Regions from separate parts of the Homo sapiens genome. Here regions 2, 3, 4 and 5 are each linked to region 1. The links are contacts of gene promoters, found by promoter capture Hi-C in blood cells and fetal thymus (Javierre and others, 2016). All regions are on one chromosome and are shown on one strand. Each heading gives the region's core, a stretch centred on a gene start or on the middle of the fragment in contact. The rest is flanking DNA. Distances are from core to core; before and after follow the strand shown.

The links. Contacts are between HindIII fragments. The CHiCAGO score rates a contact against its expected background, and 5 or more counts as called.
Region 2: a contact is called between a fragment that was not itself captured here and the fragment with the promoter of PKD2L2 in region 1, in 1 of 17 cell types (total B cells). The highest score is 5.9, in total B cells.
Region 3: a fragment that was not itself captured here is called in contact with the fragment with the promoter of PKD2L2 in region 1 in 3 of 17 cell types (M2 macrophages, M1 macrophages and naive B cells); the score reaches 9.3 in M2 macrophages.
Region 4: a fragment that was not itself captured here is called in contact with the fragment with the promoter of PKD2L2 in region 1 in 2 of 17 cell types (naive B cells and total B cells); the score reaches 6.5 in naive B cells.
Region 5: a fragment that was not itself captured here is called in contact with the fragment with the promoter of PKD2L2 in region 1 in 4 of 17 cell types (M1 macrophages, naive B cells, total B cells and 1 more); the score reaches 6.8 in M1 macrophages.

The regions. Positions count from the first base shown.
Region 1 is chr5:137,888,207-137,891,004 of GRCh38, reverse strand. It overlaps PKD2L2 (polycystin 2 like 2, transient receptor potential cation channel), which reads right to left and starts at 1,548. Exons shown (of 15, transcript NM_001300921.2): 1 at 1,483-1,548; 2 at 423-524. The coding sequence starts at 1,513. It overlaps PKD2L2-DT (PKD2L2 divergent transcript), which reads left to right and starts at 1,686. Exons shown (of 4, transcript XR_948815.3): 1 at 1,686-1,858; 2 at 2,717-2,798. The HindIII fragment of the contact is 1,963 bases long and covers 198-2,160 here.
Region 2 is chr5:138,015,749-138,018,546 of GRCh38, reverse strand. It overlaps FAM13B (family with sequence similarity 13 member B), which reads left to right. Exons shown (of 24, transcript NM_001385994.1): 4 at 33-245. Among named protein-coding and RNA genes, the nearest start is that of FAM13B-AS1, 16 kb to the left of the region's middle. The HindIII fragment of the contact is 4,772 bases long and covers 1-2,798 here.
Region 3 is chr5:137,795,023-137,797,820 of GRCh38, reverse strand. No RefSeq gene overlaps it. Among named protein-coding and RNA genes, the nearest start is that of HNRNPA0, 42 kb to the right of the region's middle. The HindIII fragment of the contact is 2,436 bases long and covers 238-2,673 here.
Region 4 is chr5:137,985,585-137,988,382 of GRCh38, reverse strand. It overlaps FAM13B (family with sequence similarity 13 member B), which reads left to right. Exons shown (of 24, transcript NM_001385994.1): 8 at 68-109; 9 at 767-922. Among named protein-coding and RNA genes, the nearest start is that of FAM13B-AS1, 46 kb to the left of the region's middle. The HindIII fragment of the contact is 531 bases long and covers 1,196-1,726 here.
Region 5 is chr5:137,811,795-137,814,592 of GRCh38, reverse strand. No RefSeq gene overlaps it. Among named protein-coding and RNA genes, the nearest start is that of MYOT, 55 kb to the left of the region's middle. The HindIII fragment of the contact is 208 bases long and covers 1,353-1,560 here.

The sequences.
Region 1 (2,798 bases), core at 299-2,798:
GAACCAAGCTAATGGCAGACACCAAGATGAACTTTGGCCTCATTTGTACTTTGATTTATGAAACTCAGCTGATGTGTCTATATGACTCTAAACAAAATCAAATTGCAGTTGCCAACCCAAGGGATGAATTATGCTCAAGACAGAACTGCCAAATGAAAGGAATAATTCTAATTCAGTCAGTATTGACTATGGAAGCTTCTTACATTTGCGATGTAAAATTTTGCCCCTTAAGAACTGAAAATAGTCAATTTCTAAATGAAATGAATCTAAATGAATTTAAGATTATGTTTAAACGTGTCACTGTATTTTGAGTTTTAGTAGCCTGACAGCCTGTGGTTTTGAAGTTTGTATGTTTTATTTTTCATCTCCACATTTTAACTTCTTAGTTCAAACAAACAGCATCTTTATATCTGTGTACTTACATATACATAGGTTTATTAAAAAAATAAAGTAGAGTAACAATTCCTGAAGTGTGGTTGTAATTTCTACTTCCTTTCTGTAATGCAACTTATGTTTCGAAGCCCCTGTGAGATATAAGACAAAATTTTTCTTTACATTATTATGTAATTTATAAGTGACAACAATGGAAAAACCACAGCCACTTTTAGTCCTTACACTGCGGGGAGGAAAGCTCCAATAGCTTCTGGCTATTTTTCAATTCTTAGTTTTACGAGGCAGGGATAATTTTTTTACTATATACTATTAATAACAGATTTTTTTTTTGAGACGGAGTCTAGCTCTGTCGCCAGGCTGGAGTTCAGTGACGCGATCTCGTCTCACTGCAGCCTCCGCCTCCCCGGTTCAAGCGATTCTCCTGCCTCAGCCTCCCGAGTAGCTGGGACTACAGGCGCGCGCCACCACACCCAGCTAATTTTCGTATTTTTAGTAGAGATGGGGTTTCACCATGTTGGCCAGGATGGTCTCGATCTCTTGACCTTGTGATCCGCCCGCCTCGGCCTCCCAAAGTGTTGGGATTACAGGCTTGAGCCACTGCGCCCGGCCACTAACAGATTTTATATCATGATGTCTTCTCGCCAGTCTTAAGATGAAAAAGCAAAATACGAAACAAGTAAAACCTCTCATCTGTCCTAACCGTTTTCTCCACCCTCAATACAGCTTCTTGGGAAGGCTGGTTTCTGCTGGACAGGGGAAAAACACCTCGGCTTGAATTCTGTCAAGGTCACGACTCCCCAGATCAACCAAGGACTTTAGAGACCGGCCTAGCGACGGTCACTCGACAGGTGACAACGCCCAGCTCGAGCCTCCGGCAAGAGGCGAGCGCCACCTCGCTCAGGGCTTCAGTTTTCCCGTCTGTGCAATGGGACCATCTGTCCCTCTCCGCTTCCCCAGGGGAGGCTGTGAGGGCTAAAGGTGTCGGCAGTCACATCTCTCAAACGAATTTGGGGCCGCAGAGTTCCTTTCAGGGTGTCTGGAACTGCCAAATCGCCCCTGTCCCTCCCACTCCTTAAGAGGACCCCTCACCGCCTCGGTGCCACCGTGACGCCTCAGCCATGGCGGACCTGCACTACACCGCCCGTTCGTTCGCCTGAGGCCGCGGCGCTTGCGCGCTAGTCTTGCGGCGCGCGCTGCCCGGCTCTGACGCCTGCGCGAGCCCCCAGCTCCTCCAGGGCGGCGAGCTACTCGACAAGTCGTCAGCGCGGCTGCGCCGCAGGAGCCCGGGAGGCCTTTCGCCCGAGGCGGGCTGCGGGCTGCTGGGGTCTGGTGCGGAGGGCCAACTTCTGGGAATAACCTGGCTGTGGGCTTAAAAATCGTAGTCATTCATTATCACGGGCTTCTCTCTCTCGAATACCTTTAACATTTATCGCCTTGTTAGTCTCCACATCCACCTCCGTGAAAGGTAGGTATTTTTGTCCTCATTTTAGGCCTGAAGAAACCGAGAAGCTGAGAAATGAAGTAATTCACTGGAAGTTGGGGCCAAGTCTTGGATGCCCAAGCCCAAATTCCTAACCGTGACCCTACGCTGCTGCTGCTGCTGCTACTTGCAGAAACTGGTTATTAACCGAGAGCTGTTGCTGGAAGTAGCTTCCACTCCCCTGCCCCCGTGATGTAAAAATAGATGAAAAACTCTGCAGTGATTATGTGAAAGGTCAGGCCGACACAGGAGTCCTGGGGCCCAGACCCACATCTGACCCAGAAGCTTTGCAAAGATGAGAAGGTTGGTAAACCAGCTATAGAAAAGGCCAAACTAATTTGGCTGTAAATTAAGGCAGCCAAAAGCCCTCCAGGATGTAAGACCAGGACGGATTCTCGTGTTGATAAAAAGGAAAATAAAATGGAATCCAGTCCAAAGGCCCCAGGGAAACCTGCAAAGAAAACCACTAACCAGTTTTGAAAGTAAAAGATAAAGCCACTTTTGTTATTTCCCTGAAAGAGATGTAGACTGCTGTCGATAAATGCTGTTTTATGTGTAGATAAAAAGCAAAACGGCCACACAGTAGTGAGGGTCAAAAACTACCATCGATGAGAGGAACAGGAGAGGCCTCGCAAAAGGCTGACAGCCAGTGAACTAGAAGCCCGAGAGGAAAAAAAGCTTTAGAATAGTTTTAACAAAAGGATTTGGGCTTTCCTGTACTGGGACTCTCAGCTGTTCACAAAATTATGCTTTCTAAAGTAACAGATTATCTGAAATTGAAATTATTAGAGGAAAAACACCCATATATAGGTAATCAAATTTACATAATTTTTTTTTTTTTAGAGATGGAGTCTCGCTATATTTCCCAGTCTGGCCTCAAACTCCTGATCTTAAGGGATCCCCAGCTCAACCTCTCCCAGCAGCT
Region 2 (2,798 bases), core at 204-2,703, 130 kb before region 1:
GCTTATTGAATGATTGCCTTGAACTAACGTAGGAGGTCTGGAGCAACAAGGACTTTTTCAAGTCAATGGAAATGCTGAGACAGTGGAGTGGCTTCGGCAGAGATACGACAGCGGAGAAGAGGTGGATTTGGTTAAGGAAGCAGATGTTCCCTCAGCTATTAGCCTTCTTAGATTTTTTCTTCAAGAACTTCCTGAACCTGTTATCCCTGGCAGTTTACATATTCACTTGATGCAGCTTTCTCAAGGTAACATAATTTGATACTTATCAATTGGTCATTTGTTGTTAATTTCCTAGTCTTTACCTTTTAGAAATCTTGACATGTAAACAGTAAGTATAGTATTTTAGAGATTAATTTGTTATTTTCTCATTTGCTTTTTGGGGTTGTATGATCTTGTCATAGGAAAGGCAACTTCCGGGATCCCTCTAGTACTATTTACTTTTTGTGATTGGTTTTATTAGCCTAAGAAACAGGGTGAAGAAGAGGAAAGGGAGGAGACAAGAACAAGGAGTAGGAGGGGTCATCAAAAAGAAAGAAGAGAAATTTATGTAAGGTAATGTGTGTGGTGGCACAATGTCCAATAGTAGCCAAAGGTGTTGCTTAGTGGTGATATTACCACTATTAGGGTTACTTATCCCTGGTTTGATAGAATTTCCTAGCAAAAGGAAGAAGACAACTTTGATTCTAGGCTTTGAATATACCTAAAACTTGTTCTTGAACACTTAGCTAAAGGAAATGAATATCAAATTGAACATTAGACTCTAAGCTAAAGAAACAAAAAAAGATGTATCTTTGTTAGGTTTTTTTGGTGGTGACTAAAAAGTAGTGCTTAGCTAGAGTGGAACAGGAACAGGAAAAATAATGGTAGAGGCAGCAGAAAGGTCAAAGAACCAAGAAGTGAGGAAATGCTTCTGTTCCTAGAGCCAAATGGTATTCATGTATATGTAATGGAGGGACATGCTTCATTATATAGGAAAATGTGTAAAGTTGGCATATAGAGTTATATATTTCTTGAATTTTAAAATTACCCTTTCAGGCTTTTTTGGTATTATGGAGTTCATTTATTTTTTGAATCGGGGCTTCTAAAGAAATTCAGTTATGCTAAGAAATTATAACTACTTCCTTTATGCCTATCTCTATCACAGCTGGGCATTCTATAATATGTGTGTATATATCCTTAAGTATTATGTTGTCAGAGAAGGTATATTTTCTTTCGAAAGTGTTTATCCGTCTTTTTCTTAAATTTTAAACTGTGAGCCTAAGTTAGTTGGATGTCTTTGATTTATGTATAAAGGTCAATGCAAAGACGTTCTGTGACCCTCTTACACATGTTTTCTGTACAGCTAAATCATAAGGCTTACTTTGAACTTGCTATATTCAGGAAGGGGTAACCTGATTCAGTTCTGTTCTTTTACTCTATAATCTGGATCAAAAAACAGGTTTTAAAACGAAATGTTATTAGTAAGGCTACCCTTTTTTCAATGCATCACTTTAATTTTTCTCCCCCCAAAATTACGCTTTTTTGTTTTGAATTTTTGAATCCATTTTATTATTACAGGAATTTTTTCAAATGTTTATGTTGAGACACATAATAAGCATTTTGCATTTATTAAATATGAACCGAAACCAATATGGTAAAGGTTTTTTGAGCCTTTTAAAATAACTCTAGAGCCATTCTCTTTATAGTGATAGGTTTCCATGTTCCCTCTGTTAGCTGAATTGCAGACACATATTTAAAGTTCCAAGAGTCAGATAATCTTTCAGTCCTGAATGAAAATTTATAAATTAATAATTGCAGTGAGATTTAATGGAAGCAAAGTCATTGACTCACTGGTAGAATCTATCAGAAGCTATTTATTTTTCACTAGGATTGTCATTTCAGTTGGTTTTCATTTATTCGTTGTTGTTGTTTTTTTGAAATGTCCTTGCTCTGTCGCCCAGGCTGGAGTGCAGTGGTGTGATCCTAGTTCACTACAGTCTTGATCTCCAGGGCTCAAGTGATCCTCTCGCCTCAGCCTCTTGAGTAGCTGGGACTACAGGCGCGCACCACCATGCCTGGCTAATTTTTTAAAATTTTTTATGTTTTGTAGAGACAAGATCTTGCTATGTTGCCCAAGCAGGTCTTGAACTCCTGAGCTCAAGTGATCCTCCTGTCTCAGTTTCCCAAACTGTCTCAGTTTCCCAAAGCACTGGGATTATAGGAGTGAGCCATTGTACCTGGCCTGGTTTTCATTTAAAATTATGACAGCATCATGTACTGTTGGGACAACTAAGTTCCTCTTCAAAGACACAACTTTCTGGTCATAAATTGTAAACCAATCCTACCCCTTCTTTTCTTTCAAAAATTGCGCATTTACCCTATTTGAAAAAGTTTCAGTCTTAGCCATGGCCTGGTTTTCATTTAAAATTATGACAGCACCATGTACTGTGTTGATATTCATGGAATTACAATACGCATCTTGTTACTTATTCTTATGCTAACATTCACTTGTGAAGGAATTTAAGATATGCAAAAATTTGCAAAAGAGATGTGCAAAAAAAAGCAAAAATGCTTATGGTCAATAAGTGCTTTCATGTTTAATATGAGAAATTCACTGTTTTCTTCTATTTTCCACTTATACATAGATAATCATTAGCATGTGTATGTATGTGTGCACATATACACCCGTTTCTTTAATAGCTGTGCAGCTAGGTATGGTAGTATTTGGGGTGATATTTGCATTTATGTTGTAATATCATCTGATCATTCATTCATTTAGTTATTTTGGGAAGGTGTCTAGATCTCTGAACAAAGTTTCC
Region 3 (2,798 bases), core at 206-2,705, 93 kb after region 1:
TTGCCATGTTGGCCAGGCTGGTCTCAAACTCTTGGTCTCAAGCAGTCCTCCCGAATTGGCCTCCTGAGGCACTGGCATTACAGGTGTATGAGCCATCTTGCCTGGCCAAATGGAAACTCTTTGAAGGCTAAAAATACGTCTTATTTACTGCTGTATCTTTAGTGTTCCTGCATAGTTTCTGGCACATAGCAAGTCTTTGGTGAATATTTGTTGAATGAATGAATAAATGAATAAGCTTAAACTCAAAATAAAATACAAGGGGAAAAGTTGAGATGCCTATTTAAAAATTTTTAAACTTTCTTGAAAAAAATCAATATATAAGTTAAGACACAAAAATGGAAATAATTATAAGAAATATGATGCAAAAGACAGTATTTTTCTTTATGAAGCATATATATGAATCACCAAGAAAATAGATTAGTATCTGTTAGTATGTATGGACAATTAACAGAAGGGCAAATAAAGACTAACAAATATTTGCAAAAAAAGGTTCTGTTTCACTAGTAGTCAGAGAAATAGAAAACAAAACAGCAATGAATTATTTTCATTTATCAGTTAATCAAATACTGGAAAAAAGTCATGAATACCTGATATATTGATAATGGAGGGTGAAAAGGGCACCTTATACATTATTGGTGGACATATAATGTAGAATACCTTATTAGAAAAAACTGGGGACAAACATTCAAGATATTTAAAAAATACTTATTTCCTTGGTTTCCATAGTCTAGCTGTACCCTAAGGAAATACTAGGAAATGCAGATAAAGATTTATAAATAAAGATATTCATCACAGTGTGATTATAGTAGTAAGAAACCAAAGATCATCCTAAACCTCCAACATTAGGGGAATGGTTAAGCAAATTAGAGGGTACTCTAAGTCTGCACATGACTTATGCAGCCCTTGCAAATGATATTTAGAAATAATAAAATATGAGAAATGTTTATGATATAAAGTTAAATGAAAAATGGATGGTATAAAATCATGATTCACAGTATGATCTCAAATATGCAGAGCAGTATACACAATAAGGGAAATATAACAATGTTAATAGTTTAGGGTTAGGATTATGGGTGACTTTCATACTTTATACTGTTTTATATTTTTGTAGTTTTTCAAGTTTTTTATAATGAACATATATTACTTTCATAATTGAAAAACAAGTTTTGTTTCTTTTTAAGCATACAGTGTTGGAGATATAGATCTCTCTGTCCTGTAATCGTTGGTGATAAAACTTAGTGAACAATAGGGTTCTGTTTGCCTCAAGTTAAAATTCACTGCTTTAATTGCAAAAGTTAATTTATAGGCCAGTAATCTTATACAGCAGGCAGTTTGGTTGATAAAAGTATCCAAAGAAAGAACTGAGCATCTGACTTTTCTTATCTCTCCAGAGCCCTTGTACCATTGATTTCTGCTCTCTCATTATATCGTGTGTTTTATTTTTAGTTATAAAATACGTTTTATTGCCTTTAATCTGATATACCTTTGTAAGCATGAATTAAGACATGAGATGATTTTCTGAAGCCATGTTTTTACCATATTAGGGAAAGTTAAGATTGAAAAATACGAGTAGTAGGTTCTAAACTCCCAGTCATCCATGTTATAATTAGTCAATTATTGCAGAAACTTGGTAGAGAAAGGTTTCCTGTTTTTTTTTCTCCCCCACTACAGCCATCTTTACTTCTGTCAATAACTCTTTTGACTTTGTTAACAGCTCTCTCATTATATACATTTAAAAAAGAAAAGCTGTTATCAATCTGCTCAAATTTTTTTTTCTTAGATTTCAGTAGATCCTGGATGAAATATTCCCTAAAGTTTAGAGTATCACCTTAAGACCTGGGTGACAGGGCCCCCTACTTTGGATCTTATACTTAAAGGATGCACATATCACAAATGTTTAAAACATAAGTGTCATTTAAGATCCAGCACTAAGTGGCATAGTACGATTTGTAATCCAAATGTCCACTGTAGTGACTAACACCATTCAGGCTCCAGATAACACTTTCCTCCATCTCTTCCCGTCTGCCATTGAAGCAAAAAGTGATTCTGTGTGAATGCCGTGAAGGTTATGGGCTGTTGATGCTGGTTATGGACACTGCTTTGGAGTATGGGGAGGATTTGAGTGACAGAAGTTCTTAGGTGAGGGAAAAGACAAATTAATTAGCACAAATGGAGTAGATTCTTGCACACTGAGGTATCATTTCCCAGGGCTGCTGAGCATCCATTTTCTTGTTTCTCTTTGTATTCCAGTATGTAGTTCTGGAGATATAAATTAGGATGATATTTGTAACAGTGGCTCATGGCAGTTGAGGAATATTTTGCAATGTTAAACAACTCATATTACTCTTAAATTTTATATATGAAGGTCCTGATATTCTGGACATTGGCCGTGGATGAGCCTTGAACTCTAGAATTGTGAGTAGTTCTGTTTTTGTAAAAATACATAATAGGACTTAGTTTTTTTAAAAATCACATTAAAGTTTAAACTTTATTATAATAAATTTACTTAAAATTTGGTAATTGCTAATTATAATTTGTATTTTGTCTTTGAATTTTTATACATAATTTTGAATATTTTAGAAAAAAGATAACATATGATAGCTGGGCACTGCAGCCATCCAACTTAGCCTGCCTCACCCACACCCATGTGGTACCTTCAGCCCTGGCCAAGCTTTGAGGCTCTGTCACTGAGCAATGGTGACTGCACATGGGCAGCTCTTCCTCCATCCCCCCAGCCTCAGCCCAAATTCTTACCTGAAAGCATCACTGCCCTGGCCCCTCCCTCCCGGCTACCCCTG
Region 4 (2,798 bases), core at 212-2,711, 97 kb before region 1:
TTTCAGCACATTTTGTAGTTATTAAGTATTGAACATTTTTATAGCTAATTTCTTTCTTTGATTGCAGCACCCATATATCTCCCATCAGCATCCTACCAGCCTCTACAGAGTAAGTAGTATATTTATAGAAGACAAATTTTTAAGATTTTAAAATACTACTAAGCTGTAGAAATGAAAATAATGTACTTGTGCTCACTTTAGAGGAAAGACTGTACACAGGCAGTAAACTAGTTTTTTATGTACTGTGATAGGAACAAATGAAGAAGAAACCCATTGCATTACTATACAAAATAAAGATGAGCTTTCTTCAGATGGTTTTTTTGAATCCTCTGAAATAATTGAAAAATGTTCATAGAATATAAGTTTTAAAAAAGTAGACTTTACATAAGAAGTGTGAGCAGTACTCATGGTTTCTTTCATTTTGCTGTTAGTAGGTTATTTTGCTTTATAAGTATAGCTTTGAAAAGCCTTATTTAGTGGTTTTCTGTGTAGTGAGGAGTGAATTATAGGGACAACTGATCTTTCCCATCCCAGTAATAATAGTGACATTATGGTTGATTTGTATATGATTGTCTGTTTGGGTAAATTTTACTTTTAAAACTTAAGCCAGTATCATGTATTCCTTTTATGTATTTCTTTTTACACTTTGGTTTACCCATTTAAGTACCATAATAGTTTTACTGGTCATAGGTTTTAGCATTTATGTCTGTGTCACCAGATATCCAGTTAGAGTGACTGCTTCTTACTAAAACGTGTTGTTTTGTAGTATTTTAGAAAGAACAATTAGAGCAGCTGTGGAACAGCACCTTTTTGATCTTCAGAGCAGCATAGATCATGATCTTAAGAATTTACAACAGCAAAGTGTGGTGTGTAATAATGAAGCAGAAAGTATTCATTGTGATGGGGAAGGATCTAATAACCAGTAAGAAACATTTTACTGTTGTTTATTAAATGTTATAAAATTGTTTTATCTTAAAACTGTATTGCTACTTAAATAACAGGATCTCATCTTTCTTGGAGATTTCTGAAAGTTGTTTGTGAAAAGTGACTTTGTATATATACTTGTATATACATCCATACTTAACACTGGATATCTCATCACTTTTTTCATAATATATGTTTTATTAAGTCCAATACAGGTTTGTTTGTTTTTTGTTGTTTTTTTTCCCCTGAACATCGAATGAAGTAACAAGCTTACCTTTAGGAATTATGTTGTATGAAAAATAACTTTAAAAAATTAGACTCTGCAACAGAGTGATCTAGACAGACAGTTACAGGGGCAGCAGATTGATATCACTATAGTGCATATAATCATTGAGTGAAATGGTGGGCAGAATCATCCTTTGCTATTTAAATAGTTATCCCTTCCCACCAGCCTCTCCCCTGCTTATGTTTTTGTTAGATTAACTCTTAATACAGGTTGAGCATCCCTAATCCAAAAATCCAAAATCTGAAGTGCTCCCAAATCCAAAACTTTGAGCACTGACATGATACTCAGAAGAAATGCTCATTTGAGCATTTTAGATTTTGGATTTTCAGATTAGGGATGCCAGTCTGGCACCTCTCCTTGGGATGTTGTGAGGGACCTTGTTTGTCATGCTCTCTGAAAATTTTCATAAGCAAATGAATGGCTTTTAAAATAATTTATGAGCCAGTTGCTAACTGGCAAATATTCCAAAATCTGAAAACAAACAAAACAAATCTGAAACACTTCTGGTCCGAAGCTTTTCCGACAAGGAATAATCAACCTGTATTTAAATGTGTATTAGTTAAAAGTACTTATAATGCATGATGTTACTCCACTCTTCATCTGACCTGTTACCTTTAAATGAAGGAAAGCCTCTCTTTGTTTTCTATTACTTCAGTCCTGTATTTCAGGATACCTGTGTGCCTCCCTCAGAGACCGTGGTGCAGTGATTTCATGTTTTTCATATATCAATTTTTTTTGGGGGGGGGAAGATGAGAAAAATGTACCCAAATCTAGAAGATTCATAGGAAGGTAAAGGAAAAAAAAAGATAATTGGGGAGTGGTTTTTTTTTTAAGACAGTTTTTAAAAGGGCTAACTAGAATAGCTATCAAATATAAAATGAAAAATGTAAATGGATGTGAAAACCAGTGCTGGGAATGTTTATTTTTGGAATACCATATAGTACAATTGCAAGCGTGCCATGGATGGCACTGCCAGCCAGTGCAGCTCTATTTGATGGCCTTGGTTTGTGTACTTTGAAGGCATGATTAGAATGCATACAACTGGGAAAAGGCGGGAGAGGGAAAGAAAAGAGAAAGAAAAACATTAAAAAAAAAAGCATGTATACAACTGGATCTATTGGGAGTATTTGGGCAGAATGTGAAGGAAAAAATCAGTATCTAAGTGTTAGAAATAGTGGGAAAATGTTTCAAAGGATGTAAGCAGATTTCTTGGAGTTTGTCCTTAGCTTAGCTAGGGATCCTGTAAACCTATACCCATTGCTCAGGTGATAGTCTTATTTTCACCACTGGGGAACACATGTTCTATTGAGGGTAGTGGTATCATCTTTGAAACAAAAACTGCAGTGTTTTGGATATTCTAAACTGTAAGATGACAACTCTGCAGTAGGAAGCTATTTCTGTTTTACTTGATAAGGTGTTGGACACTGTAGTGTCTAGTACTGGACTTGTATTTGATCAGGACAGATGTGTCATTATTATGTGAGAGTGTGCATTTACAAGGGAAATGATTATTTCGGCCCATAAATTATTTTAAAAGCTATTTATTCGCTTATGAACATTTTTAGAGGGGATAACATGGTCCCTCACA
Region 5 (2,798 bases), core at 207-2,706, 76 kb after region 1:
ACACTATCCCAGCCTCAACAAGGAGCTTGATTTGGGCACAGAAACAGGAGAAAGAGACCTGCCTTGCCTCCCTTATCCAACCGGAAGTATTCTTCTTCTTCTGTCTTCAATTTATTGCATGATCACATTTATTGCATGGGTGGCTTCAGGAAGGATTTTAGGGATTCCTGGAAATAATCAGTCTTGAAATACTCCCCTCTTCTTCCTTCATCTAGGATGCTTCCTCTTCTCTCAATATATTCTCACTTATGGGTATAAAGGTAAGTTGAGTCCTCCTTTGATATTAACTCTGCCTTCAGTTACCCTTAACTTTCCTTTAGTCAGCTTTCAACCTAGCCTGAAGAGAAGCCTTTGGAACCCCTGTGTACATGTTGATGGGAATGTAAATTAGTACAGCCATTATGGAAAACAGTATGGAGGTTCCTCAAAAAATTAAAATTAGAACTACCATATGCTCCAGCAATACCATTCGTGGGTATATATCCAAAGGAATTGAAATCAGCATATCAGGGAGATATCTGTACTCTCATGTACGTTGCAGCATTATTCATAATAGCCAAGATATGGAATCAACCTAAATGTCCATCAATGGATGAATGGATAATGAAAAAATGTGACACACATACAGACACATACACAGATATATATACAATGGTATACTATTTGGCTTTTAAAAAGAAGGAAATCCTGTCATTTGCAACAGTATAGATGAACCTGGAGGACATTATGCTAAGTGAAATAAGCCGGGCACAGAAAGACAAATGCTACATGATCTTAGTTTTATGTGGAATCTTAAAAAGTCGAACTCATAGAAACAGAGAGTAGAATGGTGGTTACCAGGAGCTGAGGGGTGGTTGTGGAACTGGGGAGATACTGGTCAAAGTTTCCAAATTTCAGACAGAAGAAATGAGTACAAGAGATCTATTGTCTATCATGGTGACTGCAGTTAATAGCAATGTATTGGATTCTTGAAAATTGCTAAGAGAGTAGATCTTAAATGTTCTCACAACAGAAAGTGATAAGTATGTGAGATGATGGATATGTTAATTAGCTTGATTTAACCATTTCATAACATTATCCATATATCAAAACACATTGTTCACTGTAAATATATATAATTTTTGTCACCTATACTGTAATTTAAAAAAGTAAATTAAAAAAAGAAGGAAAGACTTCAAAACCAACACATTGAATTACTCCCCTGGTATATTGTAAATGCTTTAAAGCCTCAGCTTGGTTGTAAATTCTTTAAAGCTGTGTCTTGTACTTTTTCTATTCCAAATGCAGAGCTAAGTATATAGTAAGGGCTTAATATATTTTTCTTGATTTATTATTCTACAAAAAACAAAGCTTACAGGAAGAGAGATTGACTCTGTTTATTAGGCTGATGAACTATGCTGTTCAGGCAGAGAAGAAACTTAGGGGACTTGTTGCAAGAATGTTTTAGCATTTTCTCATTCAGCTCTGGTTTACTGGACAGACATATTCAGGATAGTTTACTAATTCTTTTAGGGCATAAACACTTATTCATTCCACTAATAGTCTTCTTTTCTAGAAGCTTTTAAAGATATGAGAAATTATTCTCAATCCAAAATGATTTGAGGTTGGGGGATAGGAGGTTTTTGGAGTGCTGGTTAGGGGAACCTGTTTCCAGGACTATCTGGCAAACATGAAAGTCCAGTCTCCACCCAAAGGACTATAAATCATGCTGCTATAAAGACACATGCACACGTATGTTTATTGCGGCATTATTCACAATAGCAAAGACTTGGAACCGACCCAAATGTCCAACAATGATAGACTGGATTAAGAAAATGTGGCACATATACACCATGGAATACTATGCAGCCATAAAAAATGATGAGTTCATGTCCTTTGTAGGGACATGGATGAAATTGGAAATCATCATTCTCAGTAAACTATCGCAAGAACAAAAAACCAAACACCGCATATTCTCACTCATAGGTGGGAATTGAACAGTGAGATCACATGGACACAGGAAGGGGAACATCACACTCTGGGGACTGCTGTGGGGTGGGGGGAGGGGGAAGGGATAGCATTGGGAGATATACCCTTCCCAATGCTCGCTAGATGACGAGTTAGTGGGTGCAGCGCACCAGCATGGCACATGTATACATACATATGTAACTAACCTGCACAATGTGCACATGTACCCTAAAACTTAAAGTATAATAATTAAAAAAAAAAAAAAAAAGAAAGTCCAGTCTCCTAAAAGGCTCATCTGGCAACTGGAGAGAGGGAGGTAAGACCTTATTTCATATACCAGCTTGTTCAACAATAGACCAAATTGATATGAATTATCCACAAACACTGCAAAAATAGAGGAAATAAAGGCTGATTTTCTGAAGTCTTTCCATGTTTCCTCTCATATAAAAGACTTTTACCCACAATACTTGGTTTATGTTTCCATTATACCTTCTTCTCGAAGTAGCTACTTATAGACTTGTGTTTGCCTACCTGTCAGAATGTAAGCCCCTTAAAGGTGAAGGCATGCATTAAAAATACATTTAATTCACTACTTTTTTGAGGTAAAAATAAACACAAGAAAGACTATTATTGATAGTTATACCATTTGCTCAAGAAAAGTTGAAAAGAAAAAACAAAACATCTTTATGGAAGGAAATTGCTCTTATCAAGGAAAGAATGCCATACTATTTAGTCATATACAGGAGATCTCTTCTGCATGTTCAGGGTGGAAGTCGGAATTAGAGGAGATTGGGTATATGTATGTGGGTGAGAGGAAGGAGGAATATTAGAATTTGATGCCCTTTCCTGCT